2 separate regions of the Homo sapiens genome follow, and region 2 is linked to region 1. The links are contacts of gene promoters, found by promoter capture Hi-C in human tissues and cell types (Jung and others, 2019). All regions are on one chromosome and are shown on one strand. Each heading gives the region's core, a stretch centred on a gene start or on the middle of the fragment in contact. The rest is flanking DNA. Distances are from core to core; before and after follow the strand shown. Region 1 holds the start of GRHPR (glyoxylate and hydroxypyruvate reductase). Region 2 holds the start of LOC105376030 (a long non-coding RNA gene).

Region 1 (7,061 bases), core at 1,803-4,302:
TTCAGGGAGGTTAAGTGGCCTGGCTCAGTCACAGGCAGAGCCGGGTTCACCTCAGGGCCTCTGCCACCAAGGCCCCGCTCTTACCCACTGGACTGTCCACCCAGCGAGGCCTCCGGTCTTCTTTAGCCACGCTGGGGCCTCCCCCATGGACACCTCTGAGAGTGCCAAGAAGGTGGCTGGGACGTGACCCTCTCTACCCTCTCCTGCAAGCAGGACACCACAAAGCTTCCAGGCCAAGGCCAGGATGTGGGGCGGCTCAGCACTGACTCACAAGGGTCCCTTCCCATCTGGCAGCCTCTGAGTCTGAACCTTTTCTCAAAACTGTCACAACAGCCTCACAGGGGGAGGTTTATTCTTCCATGGGCTGAGACCCGTGGCTGCGGTTGAGGAAAGACATCCTGCTGGGGCTTGGCACTGAGCTAGGTCCTCCCTCATACTACGCACACGCCCAGAAGGGGCAGGGTCTTGCTGGAGGTCACAGAGCAAGGTTGTGGCAGGGCTGGAGAACCCAGGGCCTTGGATGCACTTCCCCACACCCACAGTCTCCACACCGCGGTCTTTGCCCTCCTAGGGTCCCCCGCCAAGGGGTTCACAGCAGGAGGGAGGGGCAGTGCCTGTGCCAGAGCAAGCTATCTGCCCGCTCGGGCCTGGTATCGCAGGAAACGCCCTCAGAACCCAGACAGCACTGCAGAGCAGCCAGGAGCCAGCAGCACAGGCTGAGGGGCCCACAGGGCCAAGCCACCCTCAAGTCCCCTGCCCACCCAGTGTGCACCTGCAGCATCCAGGATCCTCTTGTCCACGTGGTCGGAGAGGAGGCAGAGCAGGCCGTGGGCCCCCGCCACACCTCGCTCTAGCTCCTTGGCAGGGATGGGCTCATCCGAGTCCCACTGCTCCACCTCACAGCTGCGGGGAAAGGGAGGCCCTCAGGAGAAGCAGGAGCCGCACACCTGTCCCCGCCCCTCCCAGCTGGGAATCCTGGCCTCTGATGGCCCTGGCCTCAGGCTGCCCGGGGCTGGCTGAGGGGAGGCAGGGTCAGGCAGGGGTGGTCTCAGAACTGTCCCGAGACAGCAGGTGACAGGTGAAGGGCTGAGGGGCCCCCCAGCAGAGCCTAAGCTGCAAGGGGGAAGGCATGGGGACAGCTCTCAGGTCAGCACAGAGAAGAGCTTTCCCACATTCACAGGGGCTGGGCGGCCAAGCAGGCGGCCAACTGCAGGGAAGGCCCGTGGGGGGCAGGGTGTGCCTCAGGTGGGGGGCCTGGATTCAATGGCCTGTTGCATCTCTTCCTGTCCGTGGAGTCCATGAAATAGAAAACTCTCATAGTTGGACTGGGCCAGGAAAGATAAGGTCAAGGCCACCCAACGCTTCCACGGCAGCTCACAGCAACCAGATATTTGTCCCAGTGATGCACGGTGCCTCCTGGCCCTTGCCATGGAATTCAGTACAGTCAGCACGTGTGGAGCCTCTATGTGGCAGGACACAGGATAGCTACTTGCACCTCCTGACTGAGCCCAGGGCACTGACCACCTTTCATCCACCTCCCCATGAGCAGGGTACAGCGTGAGCTACTGTTACCATGGGCGCGGTTGCTGCCTTCCACCTTCTCCTGCTCAGTACAAAGTGGGTCCTTGGCAAAGGTTTTGTTGCAGTGAACAAAATTTGAAAATCTCATATGCCCCTAGAACTGGCTGCTGAGGCTGGATTGCATCCTCTTCCTATCTAACATTGGAAACACAAACCTGATCAAATGCAGTGATCAGACAGCAGTCAGACACTTCTGAGTACAAGCCCCAGCTCCTCCACCTGGGAGCTGCATGGCTTTGGGAAGAAACTTAACCCTAAGTCCAGCCTCCAGTTTTTAATCTGTGCAATGGGAATTATAATACTGACTTCACAGTGCTACCAGGATTAAAAGTTTATGTATATGAAGCACCTGGCAAGGTTGGCCCACAAAAAGGGTTCCATTTAGCAAGGGTGGGCCAGGTGCAGTGGTTCATGCCTGTAATCCCAGCACTTTGGGAGGCTGAGGTGGGAGGATCCCTTCGTACAGGAGTTCAGGACCAGCCTGGGCAACACAGTGAGACCCTCGTCTTTGAAAAAAATAAAAAATTAGCCAGGCATGGTAGTGCATGCCTGTAGTAGTCCCAGCTACTTGGGAGGCTGAGGTGGAAGTATCTCTTGAGTCCAGGAGGTTGAGGCTGCAGTGAGGTATAATGGTGCCACTGCACTCCAGCCTGGATGAGAGTGAGACCCTGTCTTAAAAATTAAAGGGTCCTCAGGCCAGTCATGGTGACTAACACCTGTAATCCCAACACTTTGGGAGGCTGAGGCAAGAGGATTGCTTGAGCCCAGGAATTTGAGACCAGCCTGAGCAACAGAGTGAGACCCCCATCTCTACAAAAAAAAAATCAGAAAATTAGCCGGTAGTGATTGTTTGCGCCTGTAGTCCCAGCTACTCGGGAGGCTCAGGTGGGAGAACTGATTGGGCCCAAGAAGTCGAGGCTGCAGTAAGCCACGATCGATCGAGCCACTGCACTCCAGCCTGTGCAGCAGAGTGAGACTGTCTCAAAAAAAAAAAAAAAAAGATAAGTAAATATAAAGAAGAAGAGTCATCAAAGCCCCCTGCCAAACGTCCAAGGGCCTGGTCAGTGACCGCCATGTCCCTGACCCCACATGTCCTGTGGGAGCGTGGAGAATTAGCCTGGACCTTGCCTCAGGGGCAATCTCCCCTCTCCAAAGCCGGAACTGCAGGTCCCAGCGTCGTCTTAAGAGGAGAACTGGGCCCCAGAGAACTTTCTCCGAGACTCCCCAAAACTCCAAGCCTGCCCCAGCCGGCCACAAGGCCCAAACGCCCCGCCCGGCTCTCCGGTCCCTGGGACCGCCCTGCTCCCTCCTCCACGGCGCGCGAGGCTCTTACTCTGCCGCCCGGGCGAGCGCGACCCTACCCTCGGCGGGTATCCTGCGGGTGACGAACACCTTCATGAGTCGCACCGGTCTCATCCGCAGTGCAGCCGCCGACCCGGACCTGGCAGTACAGAAGCTGGCCCGGGAATGTAGCTGGGCCGGGGCGGGGCCAGGCTGGAGTGGGCGGGAGAGACGTCGCGCGCGGCGTGCGCAGGGGGTGTGGCTTCGCGAGAGGGAGCGCCGGGTTGCGGCTGAGCGGTGACTGTGCGTGCTCGGGGAGTGACAGTAACAGTGACCCTACACAGTGTCCTTGTGTGTGTGTGGGGGGGTGCGCCTCGTGCCACTGGGGAATCAGGGCCCCGGGGGAGAGGGGGCAGTATCCCGTCCAAGGCCTCATGGGAGCCCTGCTTTTTCTACACGCTCAGGGTCCTGTTTCCACAGGCTCAGGCCTTAAGAGACTGAAAGCCCCCACTTTTTCTGTCTCTTGGGTTGGCCCAGGGTAGAAACCCAGGTTCCAGGCTGTGAGGAAGTCCAGGACACACAGAGAGGTCACGTGTAGGTGTTCAGGCCAACAGCACAGCCAGGGGCCCGGCTCACAGCCACCGTCAATGACCAGAGGTATGAGTGAGGAAGCCTTCGGGTGACTCCAGGCCAACTCCCACCTGACTACAGCTAAAACTGCAAGAAAGAGCCTTTAGGAGAATCACTGGCTGAGCCCAGTCAACCCCGGAACCATAAGAGATGATAATGCACTGACTGCTGTTGCTCTAAGCCGTTCAATTTTGGAGTAATTCTTTATGCAGCAATAAATAAGTGATACGCTATGTGTGCGAAAGCCAGAAGCCATAAGAGTACAACTAATTCTCCATTGAAAAATTAACCGTACCATCCTGAATGCATCTGATCTTGGAAACTAAGCCTGGTTAGGGCTTGTATGGGAGACTGCCTGGAAATACCAGGTGCCTGGAAATACCAGGCTTATGTTTATCTTAAAAAAAAAAAATTAACAAAATCATAAGACAACAAACCGGGAAAAATACCATATATTTGCAACTCATTTTATAGACAAGGGGTTGATTTACTTATTGCACAAATAGTTCCTAAGACAAAGATGCCCAGCTTATCTGAATAAGCAAAGGATATCAATGGACAGTTTATAGAAAAGAAAATGGCCTTTAAATGTATGGCTGGGCGCGGTGGCTCATGCCTGTAATCCCAGCACTTTCGGAGGCCGAGGCAGGCGGATCACTTGAGGTCAGAAGTTTGAGACCAGCCTGGCCAACATGGTGAAACTCTGTCTGTACTGAATATACAAACATTAGGTGGGCATGGTGGCACATGCCTGTAATTCCAGCTACTCAGGAGGCTGAGGCAGGAGAATTGCTCATGAGTCCAGGAGATGGAGGTTGCAGTGAGCCGAGATCCCATCACTACACTCCAGCCTGGGTGACAGAGTGAGACTCCATCTAAAACAAAAAAAAACAAAACAAACAAAAAAAAAAAACAAAAGATGAAAAGTGCTCAACTTGACTCACAAAAGAACTGCATATTAAAATTACAGCAAGATACCAATGTAAAAAATAATACATTGGGGAACCAGGTGCTTTCATACGTTGCTGGTAGGAGTGTAAATCAGCAACTTCAATAAGAAAGTTTGGCAGTAGCTATCAAAGTTTAGACTGCACATCTTTTTTGACCCAGAAATTTTGCTTTTAGGAATTTACCTTACAGACGCGTTCACACATGTGCAAAATGCCATCTGCCAAAGGCTCTTCATTGTGGCATTGTTGGAATAGTAAAATATGGGAAACAACCTAAAGGTCCACTCATAGGGGACTGTTCATTACGTATGCTTCATTCCCACAGTGAAATACTCTGCATCAATCAAAAGAGTGAGGCAGCTCTGTGCGTACCAGTGTGGAATGATCTCCAAGATGTACTGTCCAGTGAGAAAACAGGGTGATGCAAAGTGCATATGTTACCATTTATAGGAGAAAGTATATGCCTATTCTTTTTTTTTTTTTTTTTTTTTTTTTTTTGAGACAGGATCTCAGTCTGTTATCTAGGCTGGAGGGCAATGGTGCAATCTTGGCTCACTGCAACCTCTACCTCCTGTGCTCCAATGATCCTCCCGCCTCAGCCTCCTGAGCAGCTGGGACCACAGGCATGTGCCACCACACCCAGCTAATGTTTTGTATTTTTTGTAGAGACAGGGTTTCATTATGTTGACCGGGCTTGTCTCGAACACCTGGGCTCAAAGCGATCCACTTCCAAAGTTCTGGGATTACAGGCGTGAGCCACGACACCTGGCCACCTATTTCTGTGTGTTAAATATCCCTGGAAAGATGTACAAGAAACATCTTTCTTGTTTCTTTGGGAACAGGCCAGGTGCAGTGGCTCATGGTTTGTAATTCCAGCACTTTGGGAGGCTGAGTCAGGAGCATTGCTTGAGCCCAGGAGTTTGAGACAAGCCTGGGCAACATAGCGAGACCCTGTCTCTACAAAAAAAAATTTTTTTTTAATTACCCAGGCGTAGTGGTGTACACCTGTAGTCCCAGTTACTTGGGAAACTGAAGTAGGAAGATTGCTTGAGCCTGGGAGGCTGGGGCTGCAGTGAACTGTGATTGTGCCACTGCACTCCAGCCTGGGCAACAGAGTGAGTGAGACCCTGTCTCTAACAAAAAAAAAAAAAAAAAAAGAAAAAGAAAAAAGAAGAAACTGGGGACAGTGGCTGCCTCTGGGGAGAAGACCTGGTGAACTGGGACAGAGTAAGAGAGACACAATTTTCACCCTTTGGGAATTTGCATCTTGTGCATTTATTATCTACCCTCAAAATAAAGAAAACATTCATTTAAAAATAGCACTTGGCCAGGCGCGGTGGCTCACGCCTGTAATCCCAGCACTTTGGGAGGCTGAGGCGGGTGGATCACCTGAGCTTAGGAGTTCGAGACCAGCCTGGCCAACATGGTAAAGCCCCGTCTCTACTAAAAATACAAAAAAATTAGCCAGGCTTGGTGGCAGGTGCCCATAATCCAAACTACTCAGGAGGCTGAGGCAGGAAATTGCTTGAACCCAGGGGGTGGAGGTTGCAGTGAGCCAAGATCACGCCACTTTACTCCAGCCTGGGCGACAGAGCGAGACTCTGTCTCAAAAGAAAACAAAAGACAAACAAACAAAAAAACTCCGTCTCAAAAATAAATAAATAAAATAAAATAAATAAAAATAGCATTTGGCCAGGTTTGGTGGCTGATTCCTGTAATCCCAGCACTTTGGGAGGCTAAAGCTGGAGGACTGCTTGAGGTCAGGAGTTCAAGACCAGCATGGGCAATATAGGGAGGCTCCCCCACCCTGTCTTTACAGAAAAATTTAAAAGTTAGCTGGTTGTGGTGGCTGAGTCCCGGAAGGCGGAGGCCGGAGTATCACTTCAGCCCAGGAGTTCAAGGTTACAGTAAGCTATGATTGCACCCCTGCACTCCAGCCTGGGCAACAGAGTAAGACTCTGTCTCAATAATAATAATAGTAATAGTCTCTAAAACACTTCTTTTCTTGCTGTCATTTTGAATCCTTGCACACTAAATATCAATTCCCCTGCCTTAGCTGTGGCCTTGCCCCTTCATCGCTCAGGTGTCTCCCAGGCTGCGCTTCTACGCTGATGACTCTGGAGTGAGCAGCTCCAGCCCCCATCACCCAGCTTCAGAGCCATAAGCCGCCTCTCTCCTGCCTCCTCCACCTGAGCATCCTCAGGTATCTGGAACTCAACACCTGCCAAACCCAATTCATCCACCTTCTCCCCAATACCTCACCTGACACCTGCGCTCCTCCCACATATCCATCAAAGGGACAGCCACCCCAAGCCAATACCTAGAAGTCACCCCTCACTCATGTATTTCACCCCTCCCACTCCACAGGCTTGTATTGTGGTTGAGAGCTTGGGTCTGGAGCCAGGGTGCTGGGTGTGAATCCAAGCTCGGCCTCTTGGTAATGGTGTGACTTAAGCAAATGACTTCATCTTTCTTGCCTGCAGCTTCCTGTCTGTAGACTGGGGAGAGCAACATATGCACCCCACAGATACTGAAACATGGAAACGTTAGTGAGTGACCATGTCCAGTGCTCAGGGCAGTGTCTGGAACTAACTAAGAGCTCCCGAAATGCCAGCTACT
Region 2 (6,241 bases), core at 585-3,084, 640 kb after region 1:
AGGCACAAAGATGTGAAGTCACTTGCCCAAGGTCACAGAGTTCATAAGAGGTGGGGCCAGGCTCCAAGTCCAGGCAGTGATGACTACTAGAAAATATTGTCTCTCAAGAGACTGGGGTGTCCTGATGGTGCTGGTAAAGCCCTAGAACCCACAGGTGCAATGTCAGCGATGGAGTCAATAGATATTCATTTTTCCTTCCATTTTGGGGGTTCAGGGGTTTTATTTTGGTTTTGGTTTTTTATTTTTTTGAGACAGGCTATCATTCTTTCACTCAGGCTAGAGTGCAGTGGCGTGACCATGGCCCTGCATCCTCCACTTCCCAGACTCAAGTGATCCTCCAGCCTCGGCCTCCCAAGTAGCTGGGACCACAGGCACCCACCATCACACCTGGCTAATTTTTGTATTTTTTGTACAGATTGGGTCTCACTGTGTTGCACAGGTGGGTCTCAAACTCCTGACCTCAAGTGATCCACCCACCTTGGCCTCCCAAAGTGCTGGGATTACAGGTGTGAGCCACCGTGCCCCGCCAGGTTATTGCTTAAATTCTTTTGATTTGGTTTTCCGTCTCTAACCACCCCACCCCACCCCATGGGCATCCCAGCTCTGTGGACCTTGCCGTACAGCATATGTCTCGGGCGCTTCGTCATTCCACCCTCTCCACACCTCCCCTGGGTGCACTACCATTTGAGGATGTCCTTTATTTCTTGCCTTGTAACAGAGTTTCTTAAAAATGACACACGGGCTCTCTGGATGGTCCTCAGGGATCCAAAAGCAGAGAATGGCTGGAAAGGGCAGCAGGGAGCCTGAAGGGAGTTTCTTGAAAAATTCATCAGAGAAAATCTTTCTCCCAAGTTTGAAGCAGAGAGAATTAAAGGAAAGAGGAATGACAACAAACACATGAGAAGTTCATGAGTGACCTTAGGGAACTGGGCATCAACCAAGGCTTGGGGGTTGACTGGGAGAGATGGAAGGAGGAAAGAGGACGAGGAGGAGACCTTGTCAATGTCTTCCTCCACGACATGCTCTCCAGGCCCTGTCAACCATTTCTCTCCAAGCATCTCTCCAATTCGGCCCTTTATCTCCTGTAAGAAATCTCAGGGCTGACCAAGTCCCACAAAAAGACAGTTCTAGCGCTCTAAGGGGAGGGAGATTTCCTGATGAGTAGAATTTTTCAGTCTGGAGCACCATGATTTTGTGCGAGAACACAAAATCACATTATGTAAAACCCAGAGGGCTGCAGAAAAGACACAGGGAACTTGCCATCAGCTCCCAACCCCCATGCTCTGGAGGCAGCTGGTAGCAGGTGAGAGACAAAGTTTCAGGCCAAAAGATAAAAGTGCGATTAATAAATAGTGGGTGGTAAATGTTTATAATTCAGGATCTCATACTGTCAGAATGCAACATGTTGAAGGAGGACTTGGAGAATGTCAGAGGCCTCTGATGGGAGGCAGTTTGGTGACACGTGCTGGCCTTAGTGTTGATGAGAGACAGGGTGAATGCGTGACAAAGAAGGAAGAGGCAGGAGGCTGGGAAGGAAGACAGAAAACAGAAGCAATGGGATGATGGGAAGAGAGGACAGGAGAGAAAACAGAAAGTGGAAGAGAAAGATAAGACATGGAGGAGCTGGGACGGAACAGCTCCCAGAGCAGTGGGGGAGGGTGGGACTGCCCACCACGTATGAGGGCAGAGATGCCCAGATCAAAGAGGGGGCCCATCCGGCTGCATCATGGGGCATATAATGGGAGGCCTTGGGCCTGTATGAATAGCAGAGGGGGCTAGGAGTCCGACAGATGCCATTAAGAAGCGACTTGATAACCCTCATTAAACAGAACTTCACAAATGGCTTAATTTGAATTTCCAATACTTGATAGATTTCAAACCCAGAACAATTACTTCTGATGTAAAGGATCAATTCACGGTTTCCTGAACTGAATCCTAAGGAAATGGAAACACTTCCAACAGGGTTGCTCAGATTAAAACTCCTTCAAATGCCAAATAGACACTGACTTATCTCTTTTTAAACAACTTTTTTTGTAAGGCAAAGGTTAGCATTGTAAGGAAAGGCAGGATGAAAATTAAACTCACGTACTATGACCTCCTCGGGCTGGGTTTGAATTACATTTCCACATGGCCTGTGAAGATCTTTCATGTCTCTCGCTCCATTAGTTGGTGTACTTAGCAAAGGTCGGGTAACGAACAGGCATACTTTTCTAGCCCAGAACAAGATCCTGGCACACAGCCTTTTCCTGCCTTCCCTGGTGTGTTGGAGGTCACCGGTGTGGGCGTGAGTCATCTCTGCATGCTCCACATCCTGAAGGTGCCTGCAGATGATGGACGTTAACTACCATTGTCGCCACAGTTCCGGGATGGCACAGGTCTCACATGCTTCCCCAGTGCTCTGGGGGCCAGAGAGAATTTAGTGGAAATCCTCAAGTGTGTCTGTTTGAATTTTCCGCAGGGGAAATTCATGTGTGCTTTTCAGGGAACGGCTTCATTTCAAGCAACTCTGCCAGCTGAAGTCAAAAGAGGGAGGAGGAAGCAGAGGAAGACAAAGAGAAGAAATGGCGAGAGAAGTCAGTGGAATAAGAAAGCTTCCCATCCCCAGACACTCAGAGCTTTCTGTCTGCTGGTCTCAACCGTGGTTCACATTCATGTGGGTCTCTGAGCTTCATGGTCCACTTTGCCCCATTTCTTTGCCTTCAGAGTAGGATCTGAATTCACCCCTTTCATAAGATGGCATTAGCCGAAAAGATGGGCAGAGCTTGTGTTGGGTAATAACAACATGTGCTCTTATTCTTCTCCAGCAATGGAACCTCCCTGTTCTGGGGACATAGACAGATGAACTAGGTCTGGCCTTGCCCCCAGGGAACTTAAAACTGAGGAAAGCAGATGTGTAAGTCATTGGCTGGCACCCACGGGCACTGGGGATTCCGGCCATGCCTCCCCCTCCACCCACCACCTGAAAGAACACAGCCCAGGTTTCCTGCGGGCAGAGAAGAATGTTCAACCTGTTTATGGAAGGGAATTCAACTTCTTCTCTGTCCTGCTTTTCCTCCCTCTGCCTCTTCTATCTTAGAAGTCACTCAGCCATCTGTTGGGTTATGCTTCCTCCGGTCTCTTTCCCCAGTAGTTTGGAAGATACACATTCTATTCCTGGTTGTTTAGTGCTGACTCTTTGAACATTTAAACACATCCTGAATGTTACACTTTTCAACGACTGAAGGGAATGGGAATCTTTCCTATCATGCTCCTTTCATTCCCCACACCCCAAACTTCTTTACCTAGGAGGGTCACCAGTTTTCAAACGTACACAAAAGGCTGCTGGCTTTTTTTAGCTGATGCTTGTGTGAAGGAGTAAGGAACGTATGGGTGAGAACCAAGAAGACTGCAGGGGGAAAAGCAAGGGGGAGGTTACTGAGCCCAAGGACAGGAAATGGATTGTGGCTGGAGGACTGTGGGGGAGCAATCGGAAGAACCCAGGCACAGTCTAAATGTCCAGGCCGACCAGCCACCCAATCTTCAGGTCTCCTGCTCTCTGAGCCCTGGCCACCAGCGCCCCAGTGACTGAGTGAGGAGGAGCTGTCTTCGGGGCACCTCCCCACTGTGCCAGAGGGGCCCCCGCATGCAGTGAGGGGGGGCTCCGTGCTGTTCTTTGGGATGAAAGCCAGCACACCAGGACAGCCAGGGCTGGGATCGTGGGGGTGACATCAAAGATCCCCAGCTCTCTCCTCTCCATCCCCTGCCTCTCCTTTTTACTGGGCTAAGAATCTGCCAATGACAAGCCCTCCTACGGGAAAGAGAAACTGTGAGATGGGTTGTGAAATCAGACAACATTCAGAACCAGAGCCCGCAGCCGTGGCAGATCCTCACCTCCCAAAGAGCCATTCGGAGGATCTACCCAAGGCTCCCCCCACCTTGCCAGCCTGTCTACTTATAATTGTTATTTTTCTGGAACTAGCTATCAAAATGGATATAGAATATTCCTCATTCCGTACCCAGGACCTAGAGTGACCTTTTGAAAATGTAAATTGGATCATATCCCTTCCCTGTATAAAGTCCTTTGACTGCTTCCCTTCTCCCTTAAAATAAAATCCAAAGTCCTTACCGTGCCCTGCAGGGCTCTGTGTGGCCTGGCCGCTGTCTGCTTCTCTCACCGGATGATGTGCTGTTCCTGCCTTGCTCATCACACTCCAGCCCTGCACGGCAGCTTCTCCGTTCCTTGGAACTGCTGGTCTGGTTCCAGCTCACGCCCTCTGCACAAGAAGGTCCCTCCACTGAGAACACTGTCTCTCTTCTTCTCTTGTCCTAGCTCGCTCCTTCTCATCCATCAAATCTCAACCTCAATGTCACCCCCTCGGAGAAGACTTCTCCAACCCCCCTATTGAAATTAAGCACCACCACCCTATATATTTTCTTTACACGGCACCGTCTTCCTTTGCAGCACTTGCCTCAATGCGTGATTACTTCTCCATGCGCATGGCTTCCTTGTTTATTGTCACTCTTGTCCCACCAGGCTGCAAGTTCCACTGAAAAAGGCCCTGTCTTCTTCACTACTGTTTCTCCAGCACCTAGAACAAGGCCCTGTACATAAAGGCTACTCAGTCATTATTTGTTAAGGGAATGAATGAATTTATTAAATAAACATTTAGTGAGCATTTCAAGGTTGTGGTGAAGATCAAGTGAGATAAACGATTATCACCATAAGCAGCCTCATTACTATTTGTACCTGCAATAAACTTGCAGACAATCGCATGGGCCAACCACCAGCCCATTTTGGGTTACTTCCAGCACAATCCGAACAATAGCAACCATGGAAAAGGTCAAGGTTCCGCCACACTATGCACAACAAGAAGCATGTACACTCTGATCATCTGGATTAATCTCCGGACTTAGGTTTGATCTATTTCTGTCAAGCAAGCAAATATATATTGATATTTGCAAAGAGCCTCATGCATGTGGTGCCCACTAAAATATGGCTGCATTTTCCATAGTAATTGTCTCTAGAAGCTCATTCCCAGCTGCACTGGCTCATTTAGCTAATCTGCAGTAAGTACGGTATTGATCCAAGCAGCAAGAGAGGAGCACATTAACCTGGCCCAAGGAAGGGTGATTAGTTTGGCTGCACGGTCACTTCACAGAATTGGCTGAGATCTAAAAGCCACACTGAAATAGTCTGGAAGTCAGCCCCCTATCCTCACCTCCCCACCTCCCCTCCTGAGCAACACACACATTCGCACAGGCAGGGGATCTGAGCTGGTCACAAGGAGAGTGGCAGTGTGACAGCAGCACCACAAGGAGACATTATCCCTCCCAGGAAAGGCTCTTGTCATTCATTCCTTCATTCATTCATAAGAGACGATATGTTACAAATGTGATAATACCCAGTGCTCACTAAGATGAATCAATATTGATATTCTCATATGCTGCTTATGGAAATGGAAATGAGTAAAATTATTTGAAAAGCCAATTTAGCAGAATGTATCAAAATGTTTATATGATTCGACCCCGTAATTCTACTTCTCTGAATATATTCTTAGTAAATAGTCAGGGATGTGCAGTATTGCTTATAATAATTATAAATGTCCAAAATTAGGGACTGGTTAACTGACTAACCTACTGTATATTTTTTCAGAGAATATTCTTTAGTCATTGAAAAGTATTTGTGATTTATCATATGGGGAAGGGGCCAGGGGACAATCAGCTTTCAAAACAGTGTGGATAATTTGTAGATCATTATCCCAAAATGTTTAAAACTAAATTTGCAGCTGGGCGTGGTGGTGCACATCTGTAGTCCTAGAGTAGTAGTACTCCAGAGGCTGAGGTGGGAGGATTGCTTGGGCCCAAGAGATTGAGGCTGCAGTGAGCCATGATCAAGCCACTGCACTCCAGCCTGGGTGACAGAGCAAGACCCTGTCTCAAGGAAAACAAACAAACTAAATTTGCTAATATCCATAGAAAAACTACTGGGTTGTTGATTAAGAAAATGTGGCACATGGCCGGGCGTGGTGGCTCACGCCTGTAATCCCAGCACTTTGGGAGGCCGAGGCGGGTGGATCATGAGGTCAGGAGATCGAGACCATCCTGGCTAACAAGGTGAAACCCCGTCTCTACTAAAAATACAAAAAATTAGCCGGGCGCAGTGGCGGGCACCTGTAGTCCCAGCTACTCGGGAGGCTGAGGCAGGAGAATGGCGTGAACCCGGGAAGCGGAGCTTGCAGTGAGCCGAGATTGCGCCACTGCA

What was found. The method cuts DNA at HindIII sites, captures the fragments that hold promoters and counts their contacts. A contact is called where the count stands out against the background at its distance.
Region 2: a contact is called between a fragment that was not itself captured here and the fragment with the promoter of GRHPR in region 1, in 1 of the 25 tissues and cell types used here (lymphoblastoid cells).

What each region holds. Positions count from the first base shown.
Region 1 is chr9:37,418,687-37,425,747 of GRCh38, reverse strand. GRHPR (glyoxylate and hydroxypyruvate reductase) reads right to left here and starts at 3,052. Exons shown (of 9, transcript NM_012203.2): 1 at 2,915-3,052; 2 at 773-903. The coding sequence starts at 2,997. It overlaps LOC105376035 (a long non-coding RNA gene), which reads right to left. Exons shown (of 4, transcript XR_007061479.1): 4 at 6,240-7,061. RefSeq lists enhancers at 1-780, 2,455-3,080, 3,081-3,706 and a silencer at 3,091-3,240. The HindIII fragment of the contact is 13,627 bases long and covers 1-7,061 here.
Region 2 is chr9:36,777,742-36,783,982 of GRCh38, reverse strand. It overlaps LOC105376030 (a long non-coding RNA gene), which reads right to left and starts at 4,245. Exons shown (of 3, transcript XR_001746662.3): 1 at 4,106-4,245; 2 at 2,090-2,513. The HindIII fragment of the contact is 9,066 bases long and covers 1-6,241 here.